Linked DNA regions of Homo sapiens: region 1 is linked to region 2. The links are contacts of gene promoters, found by promoter capture Hi-C in human tissues and cell types (Jung and others, 2019). All regions are on one chromosome and are shown on one strand. The core of a region is centred on a gene start or on the middle of the fragment in contact, and the rest is flanking DNA. Distances in the headings are between cores, read along the strand shown. Region 1 holds the start of GALR3 (galanin receptor 3). Region 2 holds the start of SH3BP1 (SH3 domain binding protein 1).

Evidence for each region. The method cuts DNA at HindIII sites, captures the fragments that hold promoters and counts their contacts. A contact is called where the count stands out against the background at its distance.
Region 1: a contact is called between the fragment with the promoter of GALR3 here and the fragment with the promoter of SH3BP1 in region 2, in 4 of the 25 tissues and cell types used here (aorta, heart left ventricle, lymphoblastoid cells and 1 more).

The regions. Positions count from the first base shown.
Region 1 is chr22:37,821,619-37,825,190 of GRCh38, forward strand. It overlaps GALR3 (galanin receptor 3), which reads left to right and starts at 1,764. Exons shown (of 2, transcript NM_003614.2): 1 at 1,764-2,147; 2 at 3,105-3,572. The coding sequence starts at 1,789. The HindIII fragment of the contact is 28,947 bases long and covers 1-3,572 here.
Region 2 is chr22:37,638,419-37,642,302 of GRCh38, forward strand. SH3BP1 (SH3 domain binding protein 1) reads left to right here and starts at 1,251. Exons shown (of 18, transcript NM_018957.6): 1 at 1,251-1,428; 2 at 2,708-2,750; 3 at 2,956-3,060. The coding sequence starts at 1,370. It overlaps PDXP-DT (PDXP divergent transcript), which reads right to left. Exons shown (of 6, transcript NR_109952.1): 6 at 3,414-3,884. RefSeq lists silencers at 1-218, 849-998, 1,029-1,468. The HindIII fragment of the contact is 22,988 bases long and covers 1-3,884 here.

The DNA.
Region 1 (3,572 bases), core at 514-3,013, 180 kb after region 2:
TCCTGACCTCATGATCCACCTGTCTTGGCCTCCCAAAGTGCTGGGATTACAGGCATGAGCCACCGCGCCCAGCCTCTTCTTTTTTTTTTTTTTTTTTTTTTTGAGACAATGTCTCACTCCATCACCTGGGCTGGAGTGCAGTGGCGTCATCTCGGCTCATTGCAACCTCCACCTCCCAGGTTCAAGCGATTCTCCTGCCTCAGCCTCCAGAGTAGCTGGGATTACAGGCGCCCGCCACGACGCTCAGTTAATTTTTGTATTTTTAGTAGAGACAAGGTTTCGCCACATTGGCCAGGCTGGTCTCGAATTCCTGGCCTCAAGTGATCTGCCTGCCTCAGCCTCCCAAAGTGCTGGGATTACAGACGTGAGCCACCATGCCCGGCCTAGGAACCTTTTCTAAACATGGATTGGAGCAAGAAGGTGCAGGGATAGGGGATGGAGTCACATCAGGCTGGGCCACAGGAGGTGGGAGTGCCAGAGACTGGCTGGGCCCTGGGCACAGAGGGGTTAACTACAAAGCAAATCACAGAGAGCGAGATCAATGGGTTACTGGCTGCAGAGAGAGGAAAAGGCAGCAGCAACGCAGAGAGGCAGAGAAGAGCCAGGCAGAAGAGCCTGCCACCTGGGGGAAATCAGGGACTGAGGAGGAAGTGGCCAGTGGCTACTCCAGAGGGAGTGCCCAACTCCGGCTCAGCAGAGGGGGCAGAGGAGAGGAGGGGCCTTAAAGGCAAAGGGGGAGAAGTAGAAGGCAGACCAGTACCTGCAGGGAGGCACCAAGGGGCAGCCGCTGAATCAGGAGGCCCACCCAGCCCGGCCATTCCACCCAGGATCAAGCCCACTGCCCAAGGCGGAGGTGGGTGTTGCCCATCCTGGGCTTTGGGGACCTACTGCATGCTGGGTGCTGGGATGGGGGCAGACATTGCCTTTCTTCCCTACTCCCTGCCTGACCCCCCTTTCCCCTACTTTGTCCCACCACCCCAGTGGTCTCAAGCCTGCAAGGAGATCCACAGGCAGTAGGAGACATGGGCTGTAGAGTGGGATGGGGGTGAGCATGGGTGCGGTGTGCACACACACAAGTTGTCAGAGGCACCACCTGTTACAAGCTCTCAGATGAGCACTCTAGCTTAAGAGGCAGGATACCAGGGTGGCAACAGCCCCAGAGCTGCCATTTCGAGTGTGATATTATCCTCCCATGTCCCCTCTCTGGGCCTCAATTTCCCTATGTGCAGAGAGGAAGCAGTGACCTACACGGTCTTCCCAGTTTTGCCATTGTGATGATCTCACTATACTGGACCCTCCAATGACTCAGGGATGTTACCCGTGTTTTGCTAAGGCTACAGCTTGTAGCCAGAGAAAGCCCTAAACCCATGTCCCAGGGTCTCCCCTGAGCTTCAGATCCCCATTGAGAAGGAAAACATACCAGTTTCTGGGTTTGGCCCCTCCCCCCATCGCCATATCTTCATCCTACTTCGCTTGTGCCTTCCCCAGCCTCGTGGGTTGAAAGTGTCCCTCAAATACCTAGGTAGTCCTCCAGGCAGGACTCCAGGGGTGTTCCTTAGGAAACTGAGGAACTCTCACCCCTTGAACACCACGAGCTTGCTCACACAGTGACACTCAGCGATGACTTTGGCTCTGCTCTCCCCTCCTCCATCTCCCACGAGCTTCCAGCCCAGAACACCTGGCCAGACCCAGGTCGGGGGAGTTAGATCCCGGGGTCAAGCAACCAGAACTGGGGGCTCTTGCCTGAGGATTCCAGCTTCTCTTCCCAGGTGCCCGTCTGATGGGGAGATGGCTGATGCCCAGAACATTTCACTGGACAGCCCAGGGAGTGTGGGGGCCGTGGCAGTGCCTGTGGTCTTTGCCCTAATCTTCCTGCTGGGCACAGTGGGCAATGGGCTGGTGCTGGCAGTGCTCCTGCAGCCTGGCCCGAGTGCCTGGCAGGAGCCTGGCAGCACCACGGACCTGTTCATCCTCAACCTGGCGGTGGCTGACCTCTGCTTCATCCTGTGCTGCGTGCCCTTCCAGGCCACCATCTACACGCTGGATGCCTGGCTCTTTGGGGCCCTCGTCTGCAAGGCCGTGCACCTGCTCATCTACCTCACCATGTACGCCAGCAGCTTTACGCTGGCTGCTGTCTCCGTGGACAGGTGCGCTGTGCCTGGGGCCTGGCTGGGCAGGGCTGTGGGGGCGGGGGTTGGGGGAGGAGTCCTGAACAGATCCTCACTGGCCTTAGGAAGGAGAGAGTGGGGGACCAGAAAGGGAGGTGGGTGGGAGGAAACAAAAGCTCCCTGACCCCTCGCAAGCAGCCTCTGGGCACCTGCAGGGCGTGCTTGAGGGGACTGTCCTGCCCTTCCCCTCCTCCACTGTGAACTTCCAGAGGACGCCTCTGAGTCTCAAGTGGCAGCACAGGGTCTGGCACATAGTAAGTGCTCTGTAAGCGCGAAATGAATCGCAAAAGAAGCTCACGAATGCGTTCATCAGTTTTTTTGTTTTGTTTTGTTTTGTTGTTTTTTTTTTTTGGATCTTGGCTCACTGCAACCTCTGCCTCCTGGGTTCCAGCGATTCTCCTGCCACAGCCTCCTGAGTAGCTGGGATTACAGGCCACCACACCTGGCTAATTTTTTGTATTTTTAGTAGAAACGGGGTTTTGCCATGTTGGACAGGCTGGTCTCGAACCCCTGACCTCAAGTGATCCGCCCGCCTCGGCCTCCCAAGTGCTGGGATTACAGGCGTGAGCCACCGCGCCCAGCCCAGCTATTTTCTAACTGCCCACACCTGGCCAAGCTGTGCACACATCTGCTTCCACAGCTTGAAACTTGGGGTCAAATCCAGGCTCACTCCAGCTGATGACCCTGGGCAAGTCACTTCTCTCTGGACCTCATCTGACGCATCCATAAAATAATCCTAGAAATAACAAGTCACCGGGATCGGGCCCTTGCTAGGTGCAAGGGCCTAAGCACCTTGCGCGTTCACACCCTTAATCCCCGCCACGTCCCCCACGGTTCACAGGAGGCGCACTGGGCCGCAGGGCCCGGGCGCGGGACGTGGCGCGGGCCCCTGCGGGAGGGCACCTGCCCGCCCCGCTGACCAGGCGCCCTCCGCAGGTACCTGGCCGTGCGGCACCCGCTGCGCTCGCGCGCCCTGCGCACGCCGCGTAACGCCCGCGCCGCAGTGGGGCTGGTGTGGCTGCTGGCGGCGCTCTTCTCGGCGCCCTACCTCAGCTACTACGGCACCGTGCGCTACGGCGCGCTGGAGCTCTGCGTGCCCGCCTGGGAGGACGCGCGCCGCCGCGCCCTGGACGTGGCCACCTTCGCTGCCGGCTACCTGCTGCCCGTGGCTGTGGTGAGCCTGGCCTACGGGCGCACGCTGCGCTTCCTGTGGGCCGCCGTGGGTCCCGCGGGCGCGGCGGCGGCCGAGGCGCGGCGGAGGGCGACGGGCCGCGCGGGGCGCGCCATGCTGGCGGTGGCCGCGCTCTACGCGCTCTGCTGGGGTCCGCACCACGCGCTCATCCTGTGCTTCTGGTACGGCCGCTTCGCCTTCAGCCCGGCCACCTACGCCTGCCGCCTGGCCTC
Region 2 (3,884 bases), core at 1-2,500:
CAATGAGTCCTGCCTCATTAGGGAGGAGAGAAGCAGCCAGTGAGTGTGCCAGGCCCTGGGCTAGGTGCTGGGAGTATGGAGATGTGTGGGGCCAAGGTCCTGCCTCTGAGAGGCGCCCAGTCTGCACCGGCACACAGTCTGCACCGGCACACAGTAGTGGCTCAAATAGTCTCAAACTAAACTGAAACTAACAAAGCAAAGTGCAGAGGGTGTGGCAGGACTCTGGGGCACACCCTCCCCTCTTCCCCACGCCTGCGGCTCCTGATGCCACAGGGGTGCAGGGTAAGGAGAGCCTACTGTTTCCTAAAGGCGCTCACATCTTGTAAAACCAGCAGTTATGGAGCACTTACTGTATGCCTAACTCTGTGTTGAGTGGAGGGCCAAAGAGGAGAACTACTGAGTTTGGGGGCAGTCAGAGCAGCACCTACATCATTGCCCTACAAGAAGGAAGGGGGACTGAGGCTGTTTGCCAGGAGGAATGAGAGGAGACGGGCTTCACAGATGGAGCAAACTGCCAGGAGATGTGGAGAACAGGGTGTCGCGAACCGCTCTGGGAGGGTTCCTGGTGGCTGAGGGGTGGCACGCACCTCCCTTAAAGGGAGCTGGCAGGGGTGTCTTGTCCACTCTGCAGAATGGGCAGGCCCAGGACAGCTGGCCCATCAGACCATTAGAAACAGCGAGTCCGGAGTTCCAGGGGCTTGTCCACGGCCACACAGCAGCCCGTGGCCCCAGGAAGCCAAAGCTCCCAGCCAGTCATCCAGTGGTGGGGGGTTTAGTTCCAGGGGGCCAGAGGTCCTCTGCGGAAGAGAGTGCAAGGCAGTATCCGCGGCAGGCCCAGAGAGGCCAGGACAGGTCAGAAAGGCCTACCCCTCTTTCGCTTGGTACCCTTTCCTCTTTGCGAGGGATGCAAAGGTTATTTATACTTCGGGTCTGCAGGCTGCGGGTGGGGCAGGCACCCCGCCTGGGGCGGGTTGCGGGCGCAGGGGCAGGAATGGGCTTACCTGCTTCCCGCCACCGGGGCTGGGCGGGGCGCTGCGGGGAGGAGGAGCCGGGCACAACCTGTGGACGGCCGCGGCCGGCGGACACACAGCAGCGGGGGCCCGGCCGGGGGTCGCCCGGGGGCCCGGAAGCCGGGGAAGAGCGAGGAAACCAACTTGGAGAGAGGAGTGACCTGGGGGCCGGGGGCGGAGTCGTGAGCGGGGGAGGAGAGAGCCGGCCGCCAGCAAGAGCCGCGCGGCGGCCCAGGAAGCGAGAGCGCCGCCCACCCATCCGGGGCAAGAGCCGCGCCGCAGGAGAGGCAGGCTGGACCGGGGGCTCCCCGGGCCCGCGACCCCCGCCGTGACCCCGCAGCCCCCAGCTCGCCCCCAAGATGATGAAGAGGCAGCTGCACCGCATGCGGCAGCTGGCCCAGACGGGCAGCTTGGGACGGTGAGTGTCACCCGCTTCCAGCCCCACTCTTACCCCGGCAGGACTTGAGGGGTCGTAAAAGGGTCGGGGGAGACGGGGGTGGGGGAGGCTGGGGACAGCTGGGCAGCCACCCTCTGAGCGGCCAGACTCCTGCTCTCTCTTCCTCCTCTCTGAACGCCGCCCCCGTCTCTCGGGCAGAGCTGGAGGAGCAAGGGTGGCCTTTGGGGGAAGGGATGCCCCCCCTTACCGGATTGGAGGGGGCTTCAGGCGGGAGAATGCTCTCTGCCCTAGGACGCTGGGACTTCTCTGCCTCCACGAGTCTCTAAGTGGATGGTCCTCCTGACCTCACTTGTCCCCTCTGGACAATGGGACAGTTCACCACCTCTGCTTGCTGGGCCGGGGAGGGAGGAGGGTCGATTAGGGCCACAGACCTGGGGCGAGGGGAGGAGATGGGTCCTGGCCTGGTGGGAGGAGGGGCCTGCCCCTGGCCTGCAGCGTCCCTCCCCCTCCCCCTCCCCCCAGCCCAGGGGCCTCCTGCTTCTGTCTCGTTTCTGCTTTTCCTGGACTCAGGTGGAAATATCCCCAGGTCTCCCAGCTCCCACCCCCAGCCTCTGAGCCGGTGGCACGGAGGCCGGAAGTTTGGGGAGCCTCTCAGAGCCTGTCTTCTCTGCTCCTCTTCCCCCAGCCTCAGGAGTTCCCCATTCTCTGGGTCCAGGGAGGGGACTGGGTGTCCAGAGACCTGGTTCTAGTCTCACACTGGCACAGATGCCTACATAGCCTGGACAGTCAGACCACCTTGCAGTGGGCCTTGGCATCCCCCATGTGTCCCCAGGTGGGGGCCAAGGGCCTGTGCACCCCTGCCCACAGCTGTAGTCCAGAGTGCTGTGTGACTGTGCCTAGGAGTCTGAGCTCCTGCACTTCCCGTTCTTGGGGCCAGCTAATACTCCTCATCCCGGGGTGGGCTGAGGATTTGGGAGTGGGCAGAAAAGAGGCTTCTGTGTCCCAAAGCTGGGCCCCGGGTGGGTCTCTCAGCCTCCCCTTTAGTTTCATCTGTCCGCCCTCTCTCAGGACACAGCCCTGGGTGGAGGAGGAAAAACCCATGTATCCTATTCCCACCCCCATGGAATGTGCTCCGACTGGGATGAAGCAACTGGGCCACCCAGGGCAGGCCTCAGCTGGGAGGGACAGTGGAAGCACTGGGGTCCAGGTGCCCTGCTGCGGGGAAGGGAAGTAGGGGGCGTTCTAACCCAGGCAGGCTCAGCAGAAGCACTCTCCCCCCCCCCCCCACCACTCCCCGCAGCACCCCGGAGACCGCTGAGTTCCTGGGTGAGGACCTGCTGCAGGTACGTGCCTGGGCCGGGCAGGTGGGAAGGCAGGCCTGTGCAGGCTGTCTCGGAGCAGAGGGCCGGGGCGGGGACGCCAGGTAGGGGCCTGGGTTGAGTCATTCCTCAAGCTGTTGGCCATGGGGTCCCCAGGGGACAGGAGAAAGTTTCCTGCTCAGGGGGAGACAGCCTCTCTTGATCCTTAACCTCCATACCTCCTTCCCAGGTAGAACAGCGGCTGGAGCCGGCCAAGCGGGCAGCCCACAACATCCACAAGCGGCTGCAGGCCTGTCTGCAGGGCCAGAGCGGGGCAGACATGGACAAGCGGGTGGTGAGTGGGGGGTCCCGGGAAGGAGGGGCCTGAGCAGGAGACTTCCATCCAATGGGGAAGCAAGGTCGGGGCTGGGGTTTCCTTGCCAGTCTGAGTGTCTGGCACCAAGGGCATGGAGACTGCTCTGTTCCAAGGCCCCTCTGGCACTGCACTCAAGAGGCCCTATACCTTCCCCATCACCTTTACCCCACTTCCCTGTGCACCAGTTCCCATAAGCCAAGGCCAGGCTTCTGACAGCACCTGAACTTCTCTGTCCAATCAGTGCGCAAGAGCAGGCTGTCAATGGGGCGGCCTCAGAGGGTTTCCTGAAGGAGGTAGCAATTGAGCTGGCTTTTGAGGGATACACGTTTATTAATCAAGAGGCAGCGTTTATTGGCTGATAACCGCCAGCTTGTTACTAACATATGAGTGCACTGTCTCATGGAACACTGGCACAACCCTAGGGGCAGGCATTGCTTTACACATGAGGAACTGGAGGCTCAGAGATAAAGTCACTTGTCCAAGGTCACATAGCTAGTAAGTGGCAGAACTGAGGTTTGAACCCTGGTCTCTGATCCCAGAGCAGGCATTCCCCGTAACTCCAGATGGGGTGGGAGTGTGGGGCCATGTTTTGGAATCAGTTGACAATTCAGTGTGGCCAAGGCAAGGAAATTGGGAGCCATAGAGCGTTTGAACTCAGCGGTGGCTAGGTCAGCCATATATACCCTGGGACAGGGGAAAGAGCTCCCGCTCCCATTCTCCCTCCACCTGTGTGACCTGGGGCAAGCTCCCTGCCCTCCCTGCATCTTAGTTTCCCAGTCTGCAGTAGGACTTGGTCATTCCTT